Linked DNA regions of Homo sapiens: all the other regions are linked to region 3. The links are contacts of gene promoters, found by promoter capture Hi-C in blood cells and fetal thymus (Javierre and others, 2016). All regions are on one chromosome and are shown on one strand. Each heading gives the region's core, a stretch centred on a gene start or on the middle of the fragment in contact. The rest is flanking DNA. Distances are from core to core; before and after follow the strand shown. Region 1 has its middle 38 kb from the start of IDS. Region 2 has its middle 210 kb from the start of IDS. Region 3 holds the start of AFF2 (ALF transcription elongation factor 2).

Evidence for each region. Contacts are between HindIII fragments. The CHiCAGO score rates a contact against its expected background, and 5 or more counts as called.
Region 1: a contact is called between a fragment that was not itself captured here and the fragment with the promoter of AFF2 in region 3, in 1 of 17 cell types (M1 macrophages). The highest score is 5.9, in M1 macrophages.
Region 2: a contact is called between a fragment that was not itself captured here and the fragment with the promoter of AFF2 in region 3, in 1 of 17 cell types (M0 macrophages). The highest score is 5.6, in M0 macrophages.

What each region holds. Positions count from the first base shown.
Region 1 is chrX:149,465,472-149,469,678 of GRCh38, forward strand. No RefSeq gene overlaps it. Among named protein-coding and RNA genes, the nearest start is that of IDS, 38 kb to the right of the region's middle. The HindIII fragment of the contact is 5,578 bases long and covers 1-4,207 here.
Region 2 is chrX:149,291,299-149,295,080 of GRCh38, forward strand. No RefSeq gene overlaps it. Among named protein-coding and RNA genes, the nearest start is that of IDS, 210 kb to the right of the region's middle. The HindIII fragment of the contact is 6,670 bases long and covers 1-3,782 here.
Region 3 is chrX:148,497,836-148,502,088 of GRCh38, forward strand. AFF2 (ALF transcription elongation factor 2) reads left to right here and starts at 2,782. Exons shown (of 21, transcript NM_002025.4): 1 at 2,782-3,309. The coding sequence starts at 3,263. RefSeq lists an enhancer at 3,442-4,253. The HindIII fragment of the contact is 5,176 bases long and covers 273-4,253 here.

The DNA of each region.
Region 1 (4,207 bases), core at 638-3,137, 970 kb after region 3:
GAACTGTGGGAATTGCAATTCAAGATGAGATTTGGGTGGAGAAACAGCCAAACTGTATCAGGTACCCAGAGGTCTCCACAAGGATTCAGCTCTAGTTGTCCACAGTAGTAACTCACTTGACAACACACCCTTTATTGTCTACTTTCCCTTCCCTTTATCACTTCTTCGCCTTCTACCAATGTTTCCTGAGGTCACCTCTGTAAGGGTTGTTTTTATGTTTCAACTTGGCTAGGCAAACAACAGTATAGATGCTTTTGGTCAAACACCAGTCTAGATGTTGCTGTGAAAGTTTATTTTGAATGCAATTAACATTTAAATCAGTAGGCTTTCCTTGAATAAAGCAGATTCCCCTCCATAATGTGGGTGAGCCTCATCCAATCAGTCGAAGGCCTTAAGAGAAAAAGACTGAGGTCCCCCAAGAAAGTAGGAATTCTGCCTCCTAGCTGCCTTTGGACTTGAGCTGCAACATCATTTCTTCTCTGGGTTTCCAGCTGACCTGCACTTCAGATTTTTGACTTTCCAGCCCCCAAGGCCTTGCGTAAGTTAATTCCTTAAAATAAATCTCACTCTCTCTCTCTCTCACATATACACGCATATATATACATATACATATCTACACACACACACATATATACACACATATACGTATGTGTGTGTATGTGTGTGTATATATATAGTTGTGTATATACCATGTGGTGTGTATGTTTGTGTGTGCATCTATATATGGGTTTACCCTTGAATAACATGGGTTTCGAGTGCACAGGTCCACTTATATAAGGATAAATTGACACCAATAAAATTTACACCAAGTGTGCCTGCCTCCCTTTCCACCTCCTCCACCTTTTCTACCTCTTTTACCCCTGAGACAGCAAAATCAACTCCTCATCTTCCTCCTCCTTCTCAGCCTACTCAACATGAAGACAATAAGGATGAAAATCTTTATGACAATCCACTTCCACTTAATGAATAGTAAATTAATTTTATCATCCATATGATTTCCTTAATAACATTTTCTTTTCTCTAGCTTACTTTGTTGTAAGAATACAGTATATAATATATATACAACCTATAAAGTATGTGTTAATTGACTGTTAATGTTAACCATAAACCTTCCAGTCAACAGTAGGCTATTGGTAATTAAGTTGTTGAGGAGTCAAAAGTTATACATGGATTTCTGACTATATGCAGGGTCTGCGCCCCTAACTGCATCATTGTTCAAAGGTCAACTACATACACACATATGTGTATATACACATATGTGTGTGTGTGTGTGTGTGTGTGTGTATATATATATATATATATATATATTTTCCTATTGGTTCTGTTTCTCTGGAGAATCCTGACTAATAAAACCTCCCAAATAAACTACTTGTATCTGAATCCTTGTCAGGCTCTGCTGCTAGGGGAGCTGAACTAAGACATCATCTTATAGATGAAGATTCAGATTCCACAGCGGAGAACAGGTAGGTGACTTGCTGAGGTCACAAGACTACTTAGATGTAAACCTCAGACTAGAAACCCTATCTCTTGACCTGCACTGCTTCCACCTATAAAGATCAGGCCAACACTTGCCTACTGATCCCCCACCCGGGTCCATGACAGCCTTTGTGGATTGGCCTTTTCCTCTGGGCCCAGTTGCATCCTCTGAATACACTCTCAGCAGTCTTTTGCAGTCAACAGGGCTTGGCATGCAAGAAGAAATCTACTTGCCATCCCTCTTCTGGACTGTATTCCAGTCCAGACTGAATTCAATTATGCTTTCCAAGCCTGCTCCACCTTATCCTACCCCACACATACTTACATGCTGATTGAAGCCTATTCCATTTCCTGATAGAGGTCCCCTCCCCAGCCCCATCAAAAATAAATAAATAAAACCCACACACATCAAAGGGACTGGAGCTTGAAATTAAGTATCACTCCTAGAGCCCAGATCTGATCAGCTGAGGATCTTGCCCCAGGCTCCTTTGAAGCCTTTCAGCCTAGTGTGTGCACGGCCAAGAGTAGGTGGTACTCTGTGTTGATGGATTAAGAAAATGAGCAAATGAATGAATGTACATCTTTAGGTAAAGTGAATTATTTTGAAGTCTCTTATTCCAGTGGCCTTTAGGGGAACTGGCCAAGAAAAGAACAAAAAAATCACAATACTGGTTATTCCTGAGTCCTCACACGTGAGCTCCGAGCTCATTCTAATATTTGCCAAAGTGCTTACAGATGCTGCAACTTCTCTTGTTACAGAATCTAACTAAAGCCATTGATTTAGGAAAGTGGATTGGCAAGATAAACTTGGCAAAGATGGCAAACCCTAGCAGGTTAGTAGCAGCAAAACTAGCTGGTGCAGGGACTTCTGGCCCAGTCAGGTTTCTTTGCACTGTCTCCTGGGACAAAGCTGTCTACATTGGTCTGGGCAGCTCCTAGAAAAAAGAGCCTTGGACAGGGTCTGCATTTAGCCTTAGCAAAAGTGTACCCCTATCCCCATGAATGCTGCAGCTCGGCAGCATACACAGCTGCAGCCCATCAAAAGAAGGATGAAAACCAAAGGGGCCTGGGCTGCATGTTGAGTGGGAAATGATGACAGAGACAGTGGAGCCTTCAACAGAGGAAACATTTTAGGAAACAAGTCTTGGCCTCTGCTCCCTCACCCCCACCTTTGACCCATCATCCTGTGAGAAGAGTGGCTCAGGGCCAGCTGGGGAAGCAAGGATGCTGGGAACTAGGAAATCTGAGTCCGGTTTTTCTTCTACATGAGTACGGACAGTTTGCCAAGGTCACTCAGATGGGGTCATTAACTGTGAATCAAAAGTCGTCTGGGCCAGGGATGAGGGGACCGGATTCCTAGTGTCAACATCACCACTAACCCCTAAGTGCCTCACCCAAGGTCAAGGGCTGTCCAAATGCATGACAATATTGCTGTAGTATAACCGTTCTAATACCTTGAGTTTAGTCTGAACAGTTCACATAGTCTGATCATATCCTAAAAACAACTCAGTGAGATAGATAGTACTATCATGCCCTTTTACACATGAGGAAACTAATTAAGGCTCAGAGAGGTTCATGCGCTTACCCAAAGCCACACGGCCAGTCAGGGTTGGAGTCAGAATTCACACTCCAAATTCAGGGCACATTCTCATATGCCACCGTTTCTCTCACGAGCTTTCAAATAAACATTAAAAAGTGATGAAATACATATTTTTCACACATTTGTCAGGACCTATTCTAAGTGTTGAGAATACAGTGGTAAGTAAGATGCCACAAGGTCCTTGCTCTCTGGACTTGACATTCTAGCAGGGAAGTGTACAATGACCCATTAACAAGAACAGAACTCAAGTTCAGAAAACGGTGGATGCTATGAAGGAAATGAAGCAAGGTAATCAGAGGGAGATGTGGCAGGTCTAAAGACTTGATGGCCAGGGAATGAGGCAGATGGTGCTTTCCACAACCCAGCATCTTTGGAGGAAATCCTGCTCCCCTGGCCGCTGAAGGTGATAACCTGTGGGGTGATCCCACATCTGCATACCTTCTGCCAGGAAGTGTTCCCCAGGCCTGGTCCTCATCATCCTGGAAGTGGCTGTCAAGCTACAGGCTGCCCTGGTACCACATAAGTCTGGGATTCTCTGCCCCTGAGGATGTCAGGAAATATATATGTGTATGAGGTTGGAGGTGGAAGATCCTTCAAAGCCTAGTGTCTACAAAAAGAAGGAAAGTAAATGCATAAGATGTATATTGCTGCTCACAATGAACACAGCTCCTATGTCCAGAACAGCTGGCTTCTTACAGGACTGTAGAGTATGACAGCTGGGAAGGATGGCCCCTAGATGGGAAGACCCGAGCCCAGAAAGGAGACTTATCCAGGGTCACCCACATGGCAGGGTCAGGATCAGGGTCACTTTCAGGTGGATCACACCCTTCTCCACGGCTCATGAACAAGGAAAAAGAGGAGAAGGCACACTTATGGAACAGATGCCAGACACTGCTCAGGCATCGTATGTTCTCAATACCCGCTCACTGAGGGCTCAAAAACCCACTCAAGAGGAGCACCTACTTTCCCCAATCCACTGAACAAACAGACCCAGAGAAGGGAAGTGGCTTGCACAATGTTGTCCAGCTCTCAAGTGGCAGAACAGGATCAATCTGGGGCCACGAGGGCTCTTCCCTTGCTGTTGCTCTTGAGATCCCCCGGCATTTTTTTCTGGGCTTCCTGAATTGCCAA
Region 2 (3,782 bases), core at 814-3,313, 790 kb after region 3:
TATTCTTCCTGAAGCATATGGTATGGACTGAATGTTTGTGTACCTACCCCTCAAATTTATATGTTGAAGCCCAATCCCCAATAGGATGTAATTGGGAGGTGAGGCCTTTGGGAGGTAATTAAGTTATAAAGGTAGAGCCCTCATGAATGGGATTACTGCTCTTACAAGAAGAGAAACAAGAGAGATGATCTCTTTCTTGACCACGTGAGGATACAGCTAAAAGATGATCATCTGCAAACCAGGACAAGAGCCCTCCCTAGACAATCTATCAGCACTTTGATCTTGGACTTCCCTACCTCCATAAATATGAGAAATAAATGTTTATTATTTAAGCCATCCAGTCTATGGTTATTCTGTTATAGCTGCCTAAACTAAGACACCATACTATCCAAGCACATTGACACAAGCCTATTTCATCCCCTGAGAGCTCTGCTAGAGGTTATGAGCTCATGTGACCTGTTGAGTGGCAGAAGTAAGAAAGCAAGTGTCTTAGCTTGTTGAGGCTACTGTAACAAAATGCCACCAACTGGGTGGCTTAAACAACAGGAATGTATTTTTTCACAGGTTTGGAGGCCGGAAATCTGAGATCAAGGTGTTTGCAGGGCTGTTTCCTTGACTTATAGAAGCATCACCCCGATCTCTGCCTTCATGCTCACATGGTGTTCTTCCTGTGTGCATATCCATCTCTGTGTCCAAATGTCCCCTTTTATAAGGACACAGGTTATTAGGTTAGGGCCCATCCCAATTACCTCATCTTAACTTGATTACATCTTAAAAGATGATTTTCATCTCAATAAGATTACATTCTGAGATACTAGGGTTTAGGACTTTAACATATGAATTTAGGGGTTGTCTCAGTCTGTTTTCTGTTGCTTACAACAGAATATCTGAAACTGGGTAATTTATAAAGAAAAGAAATTTATTGCTTACAGTTGTGGAGGCTGAACTGTCTCTCTTTTTCTTTCTATAAAGCCACCAGTCCCAATTCCACGATAACCCATTAATCCATTAATCCATCAATCTATAAATGAATTAATTGGCCACGCACGGTGGCTCACGCCTGTAGTCCCAGCACTTCGGGAGGCTGAAGCAGGCAGATTGCTTGAGGTCAGGAGTGCAAGACCACCTGGCCAACATGGTGAAGCCCCGTCTCTACTAAAAATACAAAAATTAGCCAAGCGTGGTCGTGGGCACCTGTAATCCCAGTTACTTGGGAGGATGAGGCAGGAGAATTGCTTGAGCCCAGGAGGCGGAGGTTGCAGTGAGCCAAGATTGTGCCACTGTACTCCAGCCTGGGCAACAGAGTGAGACTCTGTCTCAAAAAAAGAAAAAAAAGAGAATTAATCAATTCATGATGGCAGAGCCCTCATGACCCAATCACCTCTCAAAGGCCCCATCTCTCAATACTGCCAAATTGGGGTTAAGTTTCAACATGAGGTTTGGAGGAGACAAAATTTCAAACCATATAGCGGGGCTATGGACAAAATTCTACCCGTAACGGTAAGTATAATTAGAGGCCAGAGGTCAGAAATAAATAGTGAGGTCGCAAAAGCCCAAAGGGCTTTCTGAGTGAGACGGGTGCTGGAAAGGGGATAGGGAAGGCAGCTCTGCCCCTTGTTTTCCCAGTCTCTGCCTCTCTGGGTCGTTGGGGAGGAGATGAGAAGAAACACTTTTCCCTCATAGGCAAACACATGTGGCTAGACTTACTGAAGCACCAGGGGTAACAATGCTCTTATTGTCCCCTTCCTTCTCCATCTTCCATGTGCATGTACTCACCAACAGGCATAACGGCATGGCCAGGAACGTCAAACTAGAAACCACCTCGAAGATACTAAACTTCACAAAGTGCTTTCCTTTTACAGTAGAATAAGCCAATTGTCCTTCAATGGACTGGCAGGACATGTAGCTCTCAGTTTCTATAGCTTCAGGGATATCCACAGAATAATAGCAGTTGAATGTCTTTTAAACTCAATTGCTGGTTTTATGCAATCCTATTTGGAGAGCAAGTGGCCCAGAGAGAAGGGACTTACCCAAGGTCACACAGTGAGTTAGAGACAGACTTGGAACTCAGTCCCCAGTTTCCACCTTCTTATAAGAACTATCAGATCATGGGGATACCCAAGCTCAATGTTGTTTTTTCTGTGCTAGCCTCCTTCTAGCATGCCATGTTGCTTACCTCAGTGGAAAGTTAGTAACAGGTTTTCCCACCATATATGGACCCTAAAGATATTCAACAGGGACCTCCTAGAAATACTGTCTTGCTCCAAAGAAGGGACAGCTTGTGGTGGTGTGCGTGTGTGTGTGTGTGTGTGTGTGAAGGGTGTGCATTTCCAGCATCGAAATATGAGCTTTGCACTAGTTGTGTATCTCCACCTTCCCTGTCAGTTGTAACTTCCTACTCTTTGGCAGCCCGGCCTTGATAACATATTGCCTCAAATCTCAGTGCTGCTTCTGCTCTGCTGGTAGGCCTAGGAATCAACGGCAAGTAACGACCTACTATGTGGAGGCCATGAGAAAGATTTCTGAATGAAGTCCACCTGCACATGGACTTTATTGCAACTACACCGGCTGCTGAGATGGTGGGAGGGATTTGACTTTTTCTCATTCTTGATTGAATATCAAACAGATGACAGGGTAGCCAGGTTTGAGATCTTAGATGGTGAGTAAGGAAGGATCTAGAGAACACAATGTCCAAGCTCAGGTTCTAGGGTGCTGAAAGCCTGGAGTACAGCAGAGTACTGGCAGCTGCTTGTTACTCAATAGAAGTGGTACTCAGACACTCGGATCTCACTAACGGTCTCAAAGGATGACATGTTCTCCAGAAACATGGCCTCTTCTTTGGTGAAGTCATTGACCCTGTGCCAAGATGCTTGTCAATTAGCCATTTGACGAAAAGGCAATTCTTCTAAATGTTTCCTCAGCAAGACCCACGACACAAAATTTGTCTGGGGACACTTGCATTTGTCACCTTTCTAACTGCCAGCTATTATTAAAGGCATTAGAATAGACCTAGAGTAACTATTTCACCATTAACATAAAGATGGCTTTTAAGTTGTCCTGGAATAAAAGAAATTGTGAGACTGTTCAAATGTAAGAGGTCAAGAACCCAAGTGAGTGGCTGTTTCATTTTTTTAAGTATCTAATAATTTGCATGTAAGAGATTTCATACAATGAAATGAGTTGAAAAATGAAGGTGGGAATAATGTTTATCTTACCTTTCTAAGTCACAAAAGGTACTACAGAACTGAAATGTCATACCAGCCCAATGAATTTTTATAAGCTACCCATTTTGTACTGTCTGTTAAATAATACTGTTCTTAGATTCATCATCAAAAATCCCTCAGAATCGTTCTTATTTTAAAATCTAACCAGAAAATATAGTTGACATCCAACTCATCAGCATTCTTATTAATGTGTGTCAAGCTATATGGCAGGTCCTATACTGTGTACCATATATTTTATCTCCTGCATCCTTGGCAACGACCCAGTGTGGCAGATATTAACACCATTTTATAGCTGGGGAAACTGAGGTCCAGAGAATTGAAATATCTTGCTCCAAGTCACACAACTAATAAGAGGTAGAGCCAGAATTTGAACTGAGGTATTTCTTCTTTTTTGCTACTATCTGTTCAATAATCAACCAATAGTAGCCATGTGGCTCTGCATAGACTATGGTGGGAAATCACTTGGCCAAGGTTTGCTCCCCCTTTGTAGAAGATGAGAGACCAGTTTTCACAGCCATATAAATTGTGAAATGCCTCTCTCGCATAATCTCATATTTG
Region 3 (4,253 bases), core at 1,532-4,031:
GACAGCTAGATGACCCCAGTATGACAGCAGCAGTGGGCCCTCCCTCCAGATAGCCTTTTTATTTCCTCTTGCTACTGCCCTCCATGCAAAGTGCTTTCTCCACCCTCCTGCTAGCTTTTTGGTGGAGGAAGCATGGCTTGGATCCAGCATCCTGCCCACATGTTTGAGGATTCATTGAAGAGCTGAGTTCTAGGGCCCCTGGCCCCATCAGAGCCACGGATGCACAGAGTGAGGAGGAAGGGAGAAAGCACACCTTGGATCAGAGAAGACAAAGCTTCTATCTTGCTCAGTAGCTGATGCTCAGTGAGCAGGTGCCAGGCCCGGCCAAAGAGGCCTCAGGGACAGCCTGGCCCCTTCAGTGTTGCCTGTCTTAACCTCATCTCTGTTTGAGGAGAGTGGCTAGGAAGTGGGGGCTCCTTCCACCCAACCCAACCTTCCTGCTTGGTTTTGATCTCAGGAAGGGAAAGCCCCTGCCCCTCTTTTGAAGCAGCAGCCGGCACCACTTGTCTCTTCTCTCCTTCCCGCAGGCACTTCTGTTCATAGTGCTGCCTCTTGCTGGCTCCTTCTGCTTCTGCTTGGTCCTCCTGCTGATTGGGAAGAAAGTGCACCAGTGAGGTGATGGGGGGCTGGAACTCTTAAAGGGGCAGCTTTATTTCTGTTGAAAATTTGTTTGCCTAGCATGTTATTTTTTTTTCTATCTTTCCCCATTAAATACAATTTTGTGAGAAAAGTAAACCAGAAATAAAGTGACCATAATCACCATTTAAATGTTAATTGTAGGTGTTCTGGCTTTCCTCTAAGGATTTTCAAGCAGATCAAGTACTAATGCTGGCAACCATCATCAGCAATCAAATCCAATTTGAGGATTTTTTACTGAAGGCATAAAGGTCGGGGGCCACAGATCTGAGCGAGGCCGTCCTTGTTGCTTTAAGGGCTCTCAGTCCAGGGCTGAATACTAGAATTCCATGAATAAATAAGTCACAGAGATAATTTGAAAATCCCCAGCACCATTTTTGCCAATAACTGTTTCTCCATAGAGTCTTTTTGACCAGAGGAGTTTACAGGTAGCCAAATCTACAAGCCACTTTGAGATGTCGTCTCCCCTTGGCTGCCCACTGGTTGATTTTCCATCAGTCAACCAGCATCTGTTGAGGACTTGGTCCCATGCAAAGTAAATAGACATCTAAGCAAAGTCCCAGTGGATGCTTGAGTTGCAGAATCTTAGAGCCTTGTTTCTCTATGTTAATGATGTGCTTTCTTTCCCCCCGTAAAACAATGTGAAAGAGACCAGACCCTGGGCCCCTTGTAGCTCAAATGCTGAAGTCATTCATGCTTGGAGCTGAGGCACCTTCTACTGGCTCCAGCCCTGGAAGAGCTTCCCAGGTTCTAGGTTCTAATCTGGGATCCCCCTCTAGGGGAAATATCAGATCTTGAGCATTTTAATGTCTTAGGGTCTCTGTTTCTTCAGGAAAAAAATGAAGTTAAAAGGTATTTGGATGATTTTGGTAATATGAGATAATACTGTAGAAGCATATTCAAATAGAAGGGAGAATGTCAGAGAAGTATGAGCCAGAGGGCTGCTGGGTGTTTTATGGAGAAACTGAGGCCCAGATAAGTGACTTGCTTGGAGTCACACACAGAGCTACCGGCACCCTGCTCTGTCAGGGCTCAGTCTGCTGTCCTTCCCAAGAGAGTTCTAGCCTTAGGATTTGAAAAATGTGCCAATACTATTCCCTCTGTATAACGACACGAAGAAGGCAAATTACATGCCTAGGACTCCAGAATGCTCATGTCCTGAAATGCCAGAAAGCGGTCCCGCCCCTTCCCACAGACCTTTCTCTGCACGGAGGCCAGGGAACCTTTCCCTCCAGGGAATTGGCTAAAGGGATCCACTCCTTCCTGGATCAGAGGTGGAGGTTGAAGGGAGTAGGAGGCTCGGTTAAACCCTCCACGTGCAGAAAGAGAATTTCAGGCCAGAAGGGAGACGGGCAGCCGGTGCGTGGGATACTGGGCACACACCCAGTGGTTTTCCCATTTCTCAGAGGAGGAGCTAGCAGAAGTCTTTTGCTCAAGGCACCTGGTGACCGTGCGAGGAAAGTGACAGTGGAACCCAGTTTAACAGTATCCTAACCCCGAACTCAAGGACCACGCAAGGGCAGTCATTTGTTCCTATCCTTGCTGCCCACTGAATCCAGGGCCTATAGCTCGCTGACCTACTAGGTGCGCGCCTAAAGGCATGCCTGGAGGGCCTGGGTGCGGGCACGTGGAGCCACGGGGCTGGTGAAGGTGACCGCCTTCTCCTTCCTGGACCCGCGTGCTACGCACTACAGACCTGAGGGATGCTCAGGCCCGCAAAGTTTGCTCCACTACTCGGGGGCTCAAGGAGCTGTGCTTGAGGTGGCAGGGGGCGACCTTCAACCCCACGGCTGTTTGTGCTGTCTTTTCTAGTTCAAAACTAATTCCCAGTGGTGGGGGTGGGCTGGGCTTCAGAGAGGGGTCCCATTCCCGAAGCCCGCGTCCTGGTCCCGCCAGCCCACCTCCTGTATCCCTGCCACGGCCCCTGCGTCCCGGGTCCGGGTCCGGGTCCTCAGCTCTGTGGCCGCTCCCACTAGCTGATTTTGACAGTGGGGGGTGGGAGAGGGTTCCCGAAAGGCAGGGGCGGGCGCGGCGAGCCCCTGCCAGATCCGGGGATGATAACGTGCCTGCTCCATGTCGCGGCTTCTAGCTGTCCAGGCTCCGCCCCCTGTGAGTGTGTAAGTGTGTGATGCTGCCGCGGCCGCCGCCGCCGCCTGTGCAGCCGCTGCCGCCGCCGCCGCCGCCGCCGCCGCCGCCGCCGCCGCCGCCGCCGCTGCCGCCCCGGCTGCCGCGCCGCGCCGCTGCCTCTGCCCCGGCCGCCCCCGCCGCCGCTGCCGCCGCCGGCCCGCAGCCAGCCAGGCGGGCGGCCCAGCCCGCCTGAGCCCGCAGCGGCTGCCGCCGCAGCGTCGGGTCGCTGGGTGCGCGGGCTACCGCGGACCGAGCGGACCCGAGTGGGCGACCAGGCGCTTGCCCGCCCAGTGCCACTGCCGCCGCTTCCTCGCCGGAGCACAGGACCAGACACCTCCAGCGCCCGCTGCTGCTGCCGATGCGGCCCGGACACTTTTAGCTGGGCGGGAGGGCTGGAGAGCCGGGGGCCGCCGAGAACCGCCAGCGAGCTGTGCCGAGAGCCGCGCCGACCCGCTGCGATCAGGGACAGGCGCCCGCCCGCCGCCGCCGCCTGGCCGCTATGGATCTATTCGACTTTTTCAGAGACTGGGACTTGGAGCAGCAGTGGTAGGTGTTGATTTTTGCCTTCTCCTTTGATGAGCGAGTCTCCTGGCGAAGTCTGAGGTTTTCGCCTTTGTTAAGAGGAGCTGAAGCTGTCGTGGGGGGCGCCCCGGACTCCCTCCCACTTGCTCTCAGCCACCTCTGGCCCCGGCCGCGCTGACTCCTAGGTCGGATGCCGGGGTGGGGGGAGGTGCGGGAAGAGGGAGGGATGCGGACCCGAAAGCGTCGCTTTGCGCTCCAAGTCTAAAGAGTTGCATTTGGCTCACATCGAATTCGGTGCCGCCCGAGGGCTGAACCGCACGACCTCCCAGGAGCTTTTCTCTCGGAGCGGCTTGCCGGTCTGGCCTCCTTGAGCCCCGGATGCCGCCCGCCCGAAATGTCTCAACTTTCCAGGTGCCCAACGCCCGCGGCGGGCCATGGGGGAAAGGCAACGGCCAGGTGCGGCCAGCAGCCCTCTGCTTCCTTGGTGGCCACCGCCCCCGCTGCCGCCACCTCCATCCCTGCGCTGCGCGGCGCGCACACCTTTCCTTCTGCCGACTCAGCCCAAGTTCCCTGCACTCCCGGGTGGAGCAGCGGCTTTGGGGGCCACCACTCAGGGGACCTTGGTTCGAGGCCGACTTCGGCGCTTGGCTTTCAAGACTGAGGGTTTTCGGAGTTGGCCCCCCAAATCCGCAGCTCTGATGTCAATGCACATTTAATTACCGGATGGACCCCCTTCGGCCTCCCACTGGGAGGCAGCCGTAGTTTTTTGTAAGGGACCTCCAGCTCAGATTCAAAGGTTGAGTCAGCTCTTCACAAAATACCCTAAACTTGTCGCTGAGACATTTTGAAAGATGGTAGAAAGGTGACTGGGGACCTGGAAAGTTGTTAACTCTCTTAGAGATGTGCGTGCGCGTGTGCATAAATACTGATATACATATCTATTAACTTTTCAAAAACTTCACCTACTA